3 separate regions of the Homo sapiens genome follow, and regions 1 and 3 are each linked to region 2. Evidence: promoter capture Hi-C in 16 types of primary human blood cells and fetal thymus (Javierre and others, 2016). All regions are on one chromosome and are shown on one strand. The core of a region is centred on a gene start or on the middle of the fragment in contact, and the rest is flanking DNA. Distances in the headings are between cores, read along the strand shown.

The links. Contacts are between HindIII fragments. The CHiCAGO score rates a contact against its expected background, and 5 or more counts as called.
Region 1: a contact is called between the fragment with the promoter of SLCO4A1-AS1 here and the fragment with the promoter of COL9A3 in region 2, in 5 of 17 cell types (monocytes, neutrophils, total CD8 T cells and 2 more). The highest score is 11.7, in monocytes.
Region 3: a contact is called between a fragment that was not itself captured here and the fragment with the promoter of COL9A3 in region 2, in 1 of 17 cell types (neutrophils). The highest score is 5.4, in neutrophils.

What each region holds. Positions count from the first base shown.
Region 1 is chr20:62,665,228-62,668,108 of GRCh38, forward strand. SLCO4A1-AS1 (SLCO4A1 antisense RNA 1) reads right to left here and starts at 1,394. Exons shown (of 4, transcript NR_024470.1): 1 at 1,158-1,394; 2 at 633-783; 3 at 1-270. SLCO4A1 (solute carrier organic anion transporter family member 4A1) reads left to right here. Exons shown (of 12, transcript NM_016354.4): 7 at 1,153-1,348; 8 at 2,518-2,683; 9 at 2,785-2,881. The HindIII fragment of the contact is 12,915 bases long and covers 1-2,389 here.
Region 2 is chr20:62,815,574-62,818,323 of GRCh38, forward strand. It overlaps COL9A3 (collagen type IX alpha 3 chain), which reads left to right and starts at 1,477. Exons shown (of 32, transcript NM_001853.4): 1 at 1,477-1,569; 2 at 1,994-2,062. The coding sequence starts at 1,492. RefSeq lists enhancers at 1-343, 1,032-1,717, 2,406-2,750. The HindIII fragment of the contact is 2,563 bases long and covers 634-2,750 here.
Region 3 is chr20:62,574,821-62,577,520 of GRCh38, forward strand. No RefSeq gene overlaps it. Among named protein-coding and RNA genes, the nearest start is that of MIR133A2, 11 kb to the left of the region's middle. RefSeq lists enhancers at 884-1,385, 1,386-1,885. The HindIII fragment of the contact is 1,771 bases long and covers 536-2,306 here.

The DNA.
Region 1 (2,881 bases), core at 144-2,643, 150 kb before region 2:
GGAGAGCGCCACGGGGGCTGAGCGACTCTGTCCACAGGCCGGGAGAGTGGTGGTCCTGCCCTCTTTGTGGGACATGCTCCGTAGGTGGAAGGGTCCACGGTGGGCTCCACCCCCTAGCCACCTAGTCTTGGCTTCTGTGACTTGGTGCAGGAAGGGTTTGGACCTGGCTGTTCCATGAGCCAGGCACTGGTGCCTCAGGACCTCCTGGAACAGTGCAGCTGGGGGTTTCTCGGTGCCAGAGGCAGGCTGGCCTTCCCAGGCTGGGCAGGTCTGCAGAAAGTGGGGACCCCTCCTCAGAGCTGCTCCTCCTGCCAGCGTTCACAGAGTACCCTGGGCCATGGCAGAGGTGCCAGGCATGTGGGCCACCACCGCCAATCTACCGCGCTCTACCCTTCCAGGGTCCACTATCTGGACAGGAAGAGGGCATCAGATGAGGGCTCCCCTCCCTCCCCCACAGGCCCATCCTGGCCTGGCCCCTCTGGGCTGACCTCACAAGCCCACATTCCCACACTCAACAGCCCCCCAGAGGTCAGCTCTACTGCCCCTTGGAGAGCCTCCCCACCTGTCCCCCCAAATCTGTCCCCTCCCCACCTGTCCCCCCAAACCTGTCCCCTCTCCACCTGTCCCCTCACCTGTGCCCTCCTCACTTGTCAGCCCAGAAGCTAGATGCCAGCTAATCGCAATTTTTTACTGTTGGTGGCCACTCAGGCTTCGACAAATGTCCTTGTCACAGCCTGCAGGGACTCGGCAGAGGCCCCTGGGGGAGGAGGGGGTGTGGCTGCCCTGGAGGGGGGTCAGTGGAGGAGTCATTGGCTTCCCACTGGGGCAGGGGCCGCTGACCTTGGAGCACTCTGGGCTCTCCTCCTCCCCCCGCCCCGCCCCGCCCCCCCGCTCCCCCTTCCCCTTCCCCTTCCCCTTCCCCTTCCCCTCTGAGGCATCCCCGCTGTGGGCTCTGGACAGAGGTCCCTCCTAGGGCTCTATCAGCGCAACAGCTAAGCACTCAGGTGTGGTGTTGAGTGCTGCCATGCAGGCAGGAATTGATCCCTCTATGCCTCAGTTTCCCCACCTGTAAAGTGGACCCGGCTGATCCACCACCCTCTCCCACCACGGCCCCCTGCCTGAGTCCCTGGCTGAATCCCTCCCTCTCCCCAGGGTACCTGGTGGTGCCAGCGGGTGGTGGCGGCACCTTCCTGGGCGGCTTCTTTGTGAACAAGCTCAGGCTCCGGGGCTCCGCGGTCATCAAGTTCTGCCTGTTCTGCACCGTTGTCAGCCTGCTGGGCATCCTCGTCTTCTCACTGCACTGCCCCAGTGTGCCCATGGCGGGCGTCACAGCCAGCTACGGCGGGAGGTGAGGGCCAGATGGCACCTGGGTACGCGTCGGGGCCCCAAGCACCCGCGGTCCCTGGGCATGGAGGAGGAGTGGTGCAGCACTTGGGAGAGGTGGTTTTGAAAAGGGCTACGTCACAGGACAGCGGCAAGGGCAACACCCGCTCAGCAGGGCACCCGGCAGCATCCACGTGAAAAGGCACCATGCCAGCCCCCAGCAGTGCCTGCGCTTGGGTCCCGGCTGTGCCCCCGGGCAGTCATATGCCTCTCTGGGCCTCAGCACTCTGCTCTGTAGCTGTGTCAAATGGAACAACAGCCCTAGTGTTCGGGGTCCTTGAGGCTGGTCTCTCGGTGACATAAAAAGTGTCCCAGGATGTGCTCCTGGAGTTGCCATGTGCTGGGAGTGGGAGGGACACCTGCTGGTCAGGTGGCAATTAGGGAATATCCAAAATACACGTAGGTAGCCTGCACCTCGGCCCTGCCCTGCGGGCCCCGGGAGTGCACCTGCAGGTGCCGTGCAAGGCCGAGAAGCACAAAGCAGCCGTTGTGGCATTATCGGAACCTAAGAGTCATCAGGGTGGACGGGGTCACTACGCTGTCCTCACAACAGAGGCCCTGCCCACAAAGGAGTGGAGGAAGCTCATCCTGGGCCACTGCCAAGACATACTGTGAAGTGGGAAAAAGGAAGGAGTTGGACAATGGGCGCAGTGTGCTCTGATTCAAGTGAGAAGTGCAGATGTTTGTGACTGCCGAGGGGCGTGTACGTGCAGACGACCCCTGCAAATGCACAGCCGGCCTGTGGCTGGAGAACCGAGGACTGGGGTGGGGCTGGGGCCACGAGGCTGCCTTTGTGTACTTGGCGCTTTTTCTTTCCTAATGTTTGTATTTGATCCATATGAATGTGTTGCCTGTCCAAAAACAAATGAACTAGGGAAAGGGGCTGTGCATCAGGCGGACGGTGCTGGGGGGCATGGGTGTGCCTTCCTTGCGTGAGGAGGAAAAACCATTCTATCACCAGAAGGCAGTGCCCAGTGTGAGTGCCCAGCGTGCTGGGGGCGGTGCAAGCTTGGCAAGTTTGTAGACCCGAAATGCAGGCTGCATGGGGACGAGCCCCATGGCTGACCCTGTGCCTGCTGGGCGCCAGCATGGCTCTGGCCTGGACCCTACCACTCGCTTGTCCCCCCTCTGCAGCCTCCTGCCCGAAGGCCACCTGAACCTAACGGCTCCCTGCAACGCTGCCTGCAGCTGCCAGCCAGAACACTACAGCCCTGTGTGCGGCTCGGACGGCCTCATGTACTTCTCACTGTGCCACGCAGGGTGCCCTGCAGCCACGGAGACGAATGTGGACGGCCAGAAGGTGAGTGGAGCCGCTGCCTACCGCCCCTGTCCTCCCCTGGACCCTGGGAAGGGGCCCCCGTGCCTTCCCCTTGTAATCGGAGCTATTGTTGGGCTTCCCAGGTGTACCGAGACTGTAGCTGTATCCCTCAGAATCTTTCCTCTGGTTTTGGCCATGCCACTGCAGGGAAATGCACTTCAACTTGTCAGAGAAAGCCCC
Region 2 (2,750 bases), core at 227-2,726:
GCCTTTTCAGCTCCTCCCACCTCGCCTGATGGAATTCGCACACACCCCTCCCAGCCCAGCCACCGCGCTCACCCAGCAGTGAAGGGAGAATCTCCCTCCACTCACTTCACCGCGGGAGAGATTAGAGCGACACTATTATTTTGAGACAGGGTCTCACTCTCTTGCCCAGGCAGGAGTGCAGTGGCGCCGTCTTGGCTCACTGCAGCCCCGACCTTACAGGCTCAAGCGATCCTCTTGCCTCAGCCTCCCGTGTAGCGTGGACTACAGGCGAGCACCACCATGCCCAGCCGATGTTTTAATTTTTGGTAGACATGAGGCCTCCCTCTGTCTCCAAGCTGGCCACGCCCGGCCGATGTTTCAATTTTTGGTAGAGATGAGGCCTCCCTCTGTCGCCAGGCTGACTGCGCCCGGCCAGAGTGCGGTGCTCCTGCTGAGCAGTTTTGCGCCCACTCCCCTCTCATCCCCTCCCGCCCTTGCTAACTCACAGCATTGCAACAGTCATGAGTCCCCACCTGCCGAAAGGAAGCTCCTGCAGCCCCCTACAACCCCCAGGGCAGCCTTTCTCGGGAATTTTCAAGATTCCTGGGGGAGGGGCTGGCATCTGCGCCTTCACTGAGCCTACAGGCAACTGGAAGCTTTGAGTCCCCTAGGGCAGCGACTGCCCTGGCAGCCTGAGGCAGAGCTTGGCCGGACCTGGCGACCCCTGAGCTTCTGGGAAATGGACATGGCCAGCACCGCCTTCAGGTTCCTGCCCAGGGCACGGTTCCTTCAGGCCGGGGATCCCGGGGAGGGGTTCTTCCCCTCGGCCAGGGTCATCGTTTTGCGATCTCTCCTGGGAGTCTGGGTTTGGAGTCTGGTCTTAGCCGGTAGCAACTGACGTGGCCTGACCACCCGGCCCGTCCAGGTCCACGGGTGAGGGGCCGCGGTGGGGGTGCTCCCAGCCCAGCAGGCAGCGCTGGACAGTGACCCCGGAGCGGGAACCAGGGCTGCGCTGGGCACTGACCGGGCCCTGGTACCGGGGATTCACCCTCCCCGGGGTGTTCCTGGGCCTTGGGTCGCCTGGGTCCGCTCCGGCGCCTGGGGAGGGGTCTGCGGCTTCGGAAACTCGCGGGTCTCCCCTGCCCCTCCCTGAAGGCGGCCCTTCAGCGCCGCGCGCTTCCGCCCCCACACTCGGGTTGAGGAGCAAGGAGAGAAAAGAGCGTCTTTCTCTCTTGCTCAAAGCTGCGTGTGTGCAACGCGCCAGTCCCAGGATAATTTTAACTCGCGGCCGGAGAGAACGCGCCGCCCGCCCGGCGTCTTTTTTGTTTTCGCCCAGGCGGGCTGGGCGGCGGCGCGGGGCGGGTGGAAGCCCCCCCGCCCAGGTGGGCCCGGCTGAATGGGGGGCTTGTGCAGGCGGGGGCGGGAAGGGGAAGGGGAAGGGGCCGCCCACCTCCCGCCCCGCCCGCCCGCGCGCCGCCCGCCCCGACGCCGCAGCTCAGACTCCGCTCAGCCATGGCCGGGCCGCGCGCGTGCGCCCCGCTCCTGCTCCTGCTCCTGCTCGGGGAGCTTCTGGCGGCCGCCGGGGCGCAGGTGAGCGCGAGCTCCGGGCTCTGAGGCTGGACGTGGAGCCGCGACCGCCCCAGCCCCGAACCCGCCACTCCGGGGTGCCCGGCGCAGCCTCGACGCCCCCAGCCCGTGTCGCCGTCGGGGCGCGGAGTCGCCAGCGCCTCGGGATGAGCCCCGTCCGGCCGCGTCCTCGATGGGTCCTCGCTGGCCCGGGTCGGCCGGCGCCGCCGCCTCCTCTGGGAGCACAAGGGGGCCTTTGTTCCCGCCGCCGGAGGGAGGCGGGGGACACACTGCGCGGGGGCGCCGGGCTCCGCCCGAGGCTTTGGGTCTCACCGAGGAGAGCGGCGGTCGTCGCAGGCCCCGGAGCCGCTCGGGACCCGGGAGGAGGGGACGCCGGGTCAGGCCCACGGGGGCACCTGCGCTCCTTAATGAGTTTTCTCCGTTTCAGAGAGTGGGACTCCCCGGCCCCCCCGGCCCCCCAGGGCCGCCCGGGAAGCCCGGCCAGGACGGCATTGACGTGAGTTTGGGGGTGGGGAGGGCCCCGAGCGCTCTGGGGTTCTGGCTCTGGCCCCCACCTCCCTGAGCTCCCCGGCCTGATGGAGAGAAAACCAGGCCCCACCTCCCAGAGCCGGGGTGACATCAGGGGACAGCCAGTGCCTTCACGGGATGGGGGTGGCCCTGCGGGGACTGCTGGTGGGTAGGGGTGGAGGGTGTCATGTGGTGGTCCTCCACCCAGAATGCCGGCACTGAGGTGTGTGTCTCTGGGTCCCCTGAGGGGCCCGTGCCCCTGTGTTCGGGGTTCTGGCCTCTGGCTGAAGTGGGGAGAGGCACGTCCTTTGGGTGGTTGGGGGCCGGGGGTCTTGTTGGAGGCTGCTGGGCTCTGGAGCCAGCCATGGAGGGGGCTTAGGAGCCGACTCAGTCCTGAGATGATGTCCCCTATGGGTATCTCAGGACTGGTGTGGGCCAAGCAGCAGGAGGAGGCGGCTGAAATTCTACAATTGTGCCTCCCTCGGAGGGACCGTCTGGGGTGAACCTCCCCATGTGACCACCACCAGGGCAGGAGTCCCCTCAGGGCCTGTCCACGCTGTGTGGTCCCCGTGGAGGGCTGTGGAGGGCTGCACCAAGAGCCCCCCATGACCCACCCTCTGCCCCCCTGCCCAGCTCGGCCTCAATGGCCACAGCCTCCTTCCAGTCTGTCCAGTTCA
Region 3 (2,700 bases), core at 171-2,670, 240 kb before region 2:
TGGTGGGTGGGTGGTGAGCTGCTTTCCTGTGCTCTGACCTTACTTTATTTCTAAGAGTGAAAACAGAAAGACGTGAGTGCCAACGCCAGCGACAGAAAGCAGGCTCTGTGAACAGCGCAGAGGCAAGGCTGGCACTGCCCAAGCTGCCCGGGGGACAGGCACGTGAGGCAGGTATGGCGCTGTGGACTGCAGACTGGGACGTTTGGGGCCACTTTCCTATAGAGGGTGTATCTTTATAGCAGCTGTAATACACGTTTCCTCATTGGAGGAGAAGACACGCTGGGTGACCATCTGTGTGTCAATGTACACAGTCAATTTTGTACATTTTCCAGGATTGCATTGTGGACACAGTGAAAGAGACCCCTGGGAGAAATGCTGCGTTCAGTGGAGACTGAACCCAGGTGGGGGGCTGGGGGGTGCCTCCTGTGACTCGGGGCAGGTGCCTGACTACCTGGGGTGCTTTCCAAGGAAGGTGGGCAGGGGCATGAGGAGGGCCCCTCCAGGGCCTCCGTACCTAAGTGAAGCTTCGTCAATAAGCTTCTCGGGAGATGGCCAGGGGCAATGAGGGAGACAAAGGGAGCTCCAACTCAAAACCTGAGAGAAAAGCAAATGGCGAATGTGATTTCATAAAAATGTTTCACTGACAAATCACAAGGCTTTTCCTGCTATGGGAACCCCATTCCTCAGCTCTCCCCACCGGAAAAGAACCTGGTGGGGCAGGGTGGGGAGACCCAGTCCCACACGGGAATTTCTGGGTGGAGCGTTTCCATATTTTTCACACCAGCAGGTGGACGCAGCAGTGAGTAAATCATCTGCATCTTTTGGACGTGAGGCTGCACGTGGCACTCTGTGGATAATGCATGCACATCTGCTCATCGCTTCTTTTTTGCAAAGTGCGCCTGTCACCCATAAATCCATCACATCCACGGCCAAAGGCTCCTTCAGAACGAGCCAAATTGCAGTTTCAGGTGTTGGGTCTTCTCTCACAGTCTCTCTTGCACGCACACTGGCTTGTGCACACAGGGACCTCCTGACCGGGCCCGGGGCGGTTGTGGATGTGTAGGGTCTTTCAGGAGAGCAAAGCTGACTTGAGGACAGACAGCAAAGCAGTAGCAGCAAAGCCCCGCAGCCCCTCGGAGAGTTCTTTTCATTCCCGGAACCAAGAGTGGGAGGAAATGGCCCCTAGGAAGTGTCTTATTTTCTCATTTGTTAGACGCCGCTGTCAGCCTGGGAGAGCAGGCACTCTCTGTTGTGAATCAGCCCAGTTGGATGAGCTCATGCTGTGGGGGCTGCAGCCCGCCGCCCCTGCACCCACTCCATTAGCTGCAGGGAGGTGAGCTCCGCGAGGGGCGGGCCAGGGCGCCACATCAGATCACTCCCCTTCACGGAACCCAGTCTAAGTGTGGGATGGCCCTGTCATGGCTCACACCAAATAAAACTGAGTCCAGGACAGCGCTGTGAGCCCTCACCACACCCTTAGCTGGAGGCCACAGGTGGCGGGGCTCAGGTCCGAAGCCCTTCAGCAAAGTCCTGGTGTGGGGCCTTGGAGAAGCCACCAATGTCTCAAGCCTGCTCTCACCTCCTCATGGGAGGGTCAGGTGGGGCCATGCAGTTGAAAGACATCAACATTCGCCACCCGCACAAGCGGCCTGGGCAGAGGCTGGCTGCAGGCCCCTAGTCCCCACCTCTGCTCCTTCTCCCAGCCTGGCCTGGGTAGTTGTGGGGCGGGGAGTCTGAGGCAGGGGGTGCCGGAGGAGGCCGTGCCCTTGAGATGCTGGGAGAGTGCTGATCTCCCGCTCCTGGATGTGTGGCCGAGGCCTCCTGAGTGTGCCTGGGTCCCGCCTGCCTGGGGCCACCGTCAGCCTCCCTGATGCTTCGAACACCATAGCTGCCTCTCCTTCCTCGCCGTTCCCTAGAGGAAAGTCCTTCTCACCCTGTGCAAGGAGCTCTTGGTTTGGGAAGAGACTGGACAGGACCCCCAATGACAGCTCAGTCTGGGAAGGCAGCCGATCTTTCTCAGGCCTGGGTACAGGTTTATGTGGGATCCTGGGCACAACATTTACCTTCTGCACCCATGGGAAACCTGCCCAGGAAGCATGGCCCACACCAGGCAGAGTGCACACACCATTTTTATTAAGCAGAGTGGCGAGAGCGCAGTGGCTGTGAGGTCCTTCCAGGACCCCGCTTGTGGACAGCTCCCAGCAGCTGCAGCTCACTCCCAGCCCCAGCTGACTCCCAGACCCTCAGTGAGCCCTGGGCTGGATCAAAGTACAGGGACGATCCTGTGGGTGCACCCCAGCATGGCAAGCTTCCAGGAGACCCTAGACCCCGGCTGGGGGTCAGGAAGGCTCTCGCCTCCGTGCTTCTGAGTCCATAGGAATTGAGTCTCTGGCCACACGAGGACAGAATCAGCTACATCTGAAGAACCTGGAGCTAGAAGATGAGGGCAATTAAGTCATGCGCCTCGGCAAGTTCATTAAAATGTTGACTTGCTAATGGTCCCGGGTGCAATTTGGAATGAGGGTGTTAACATAGAGACTTGGTCTATTCGGGAACTCCCTGGTCTGAAAATGGAGCTGCCAAGCTTCTAATATGCCCTCCACAGACTAGAGCTCCGACACATGAATTATTAATGCCGCATCATATTAATTGTATTGATATGTTAATAATTAACAACAATATGCTAATGATTGCCCTGTG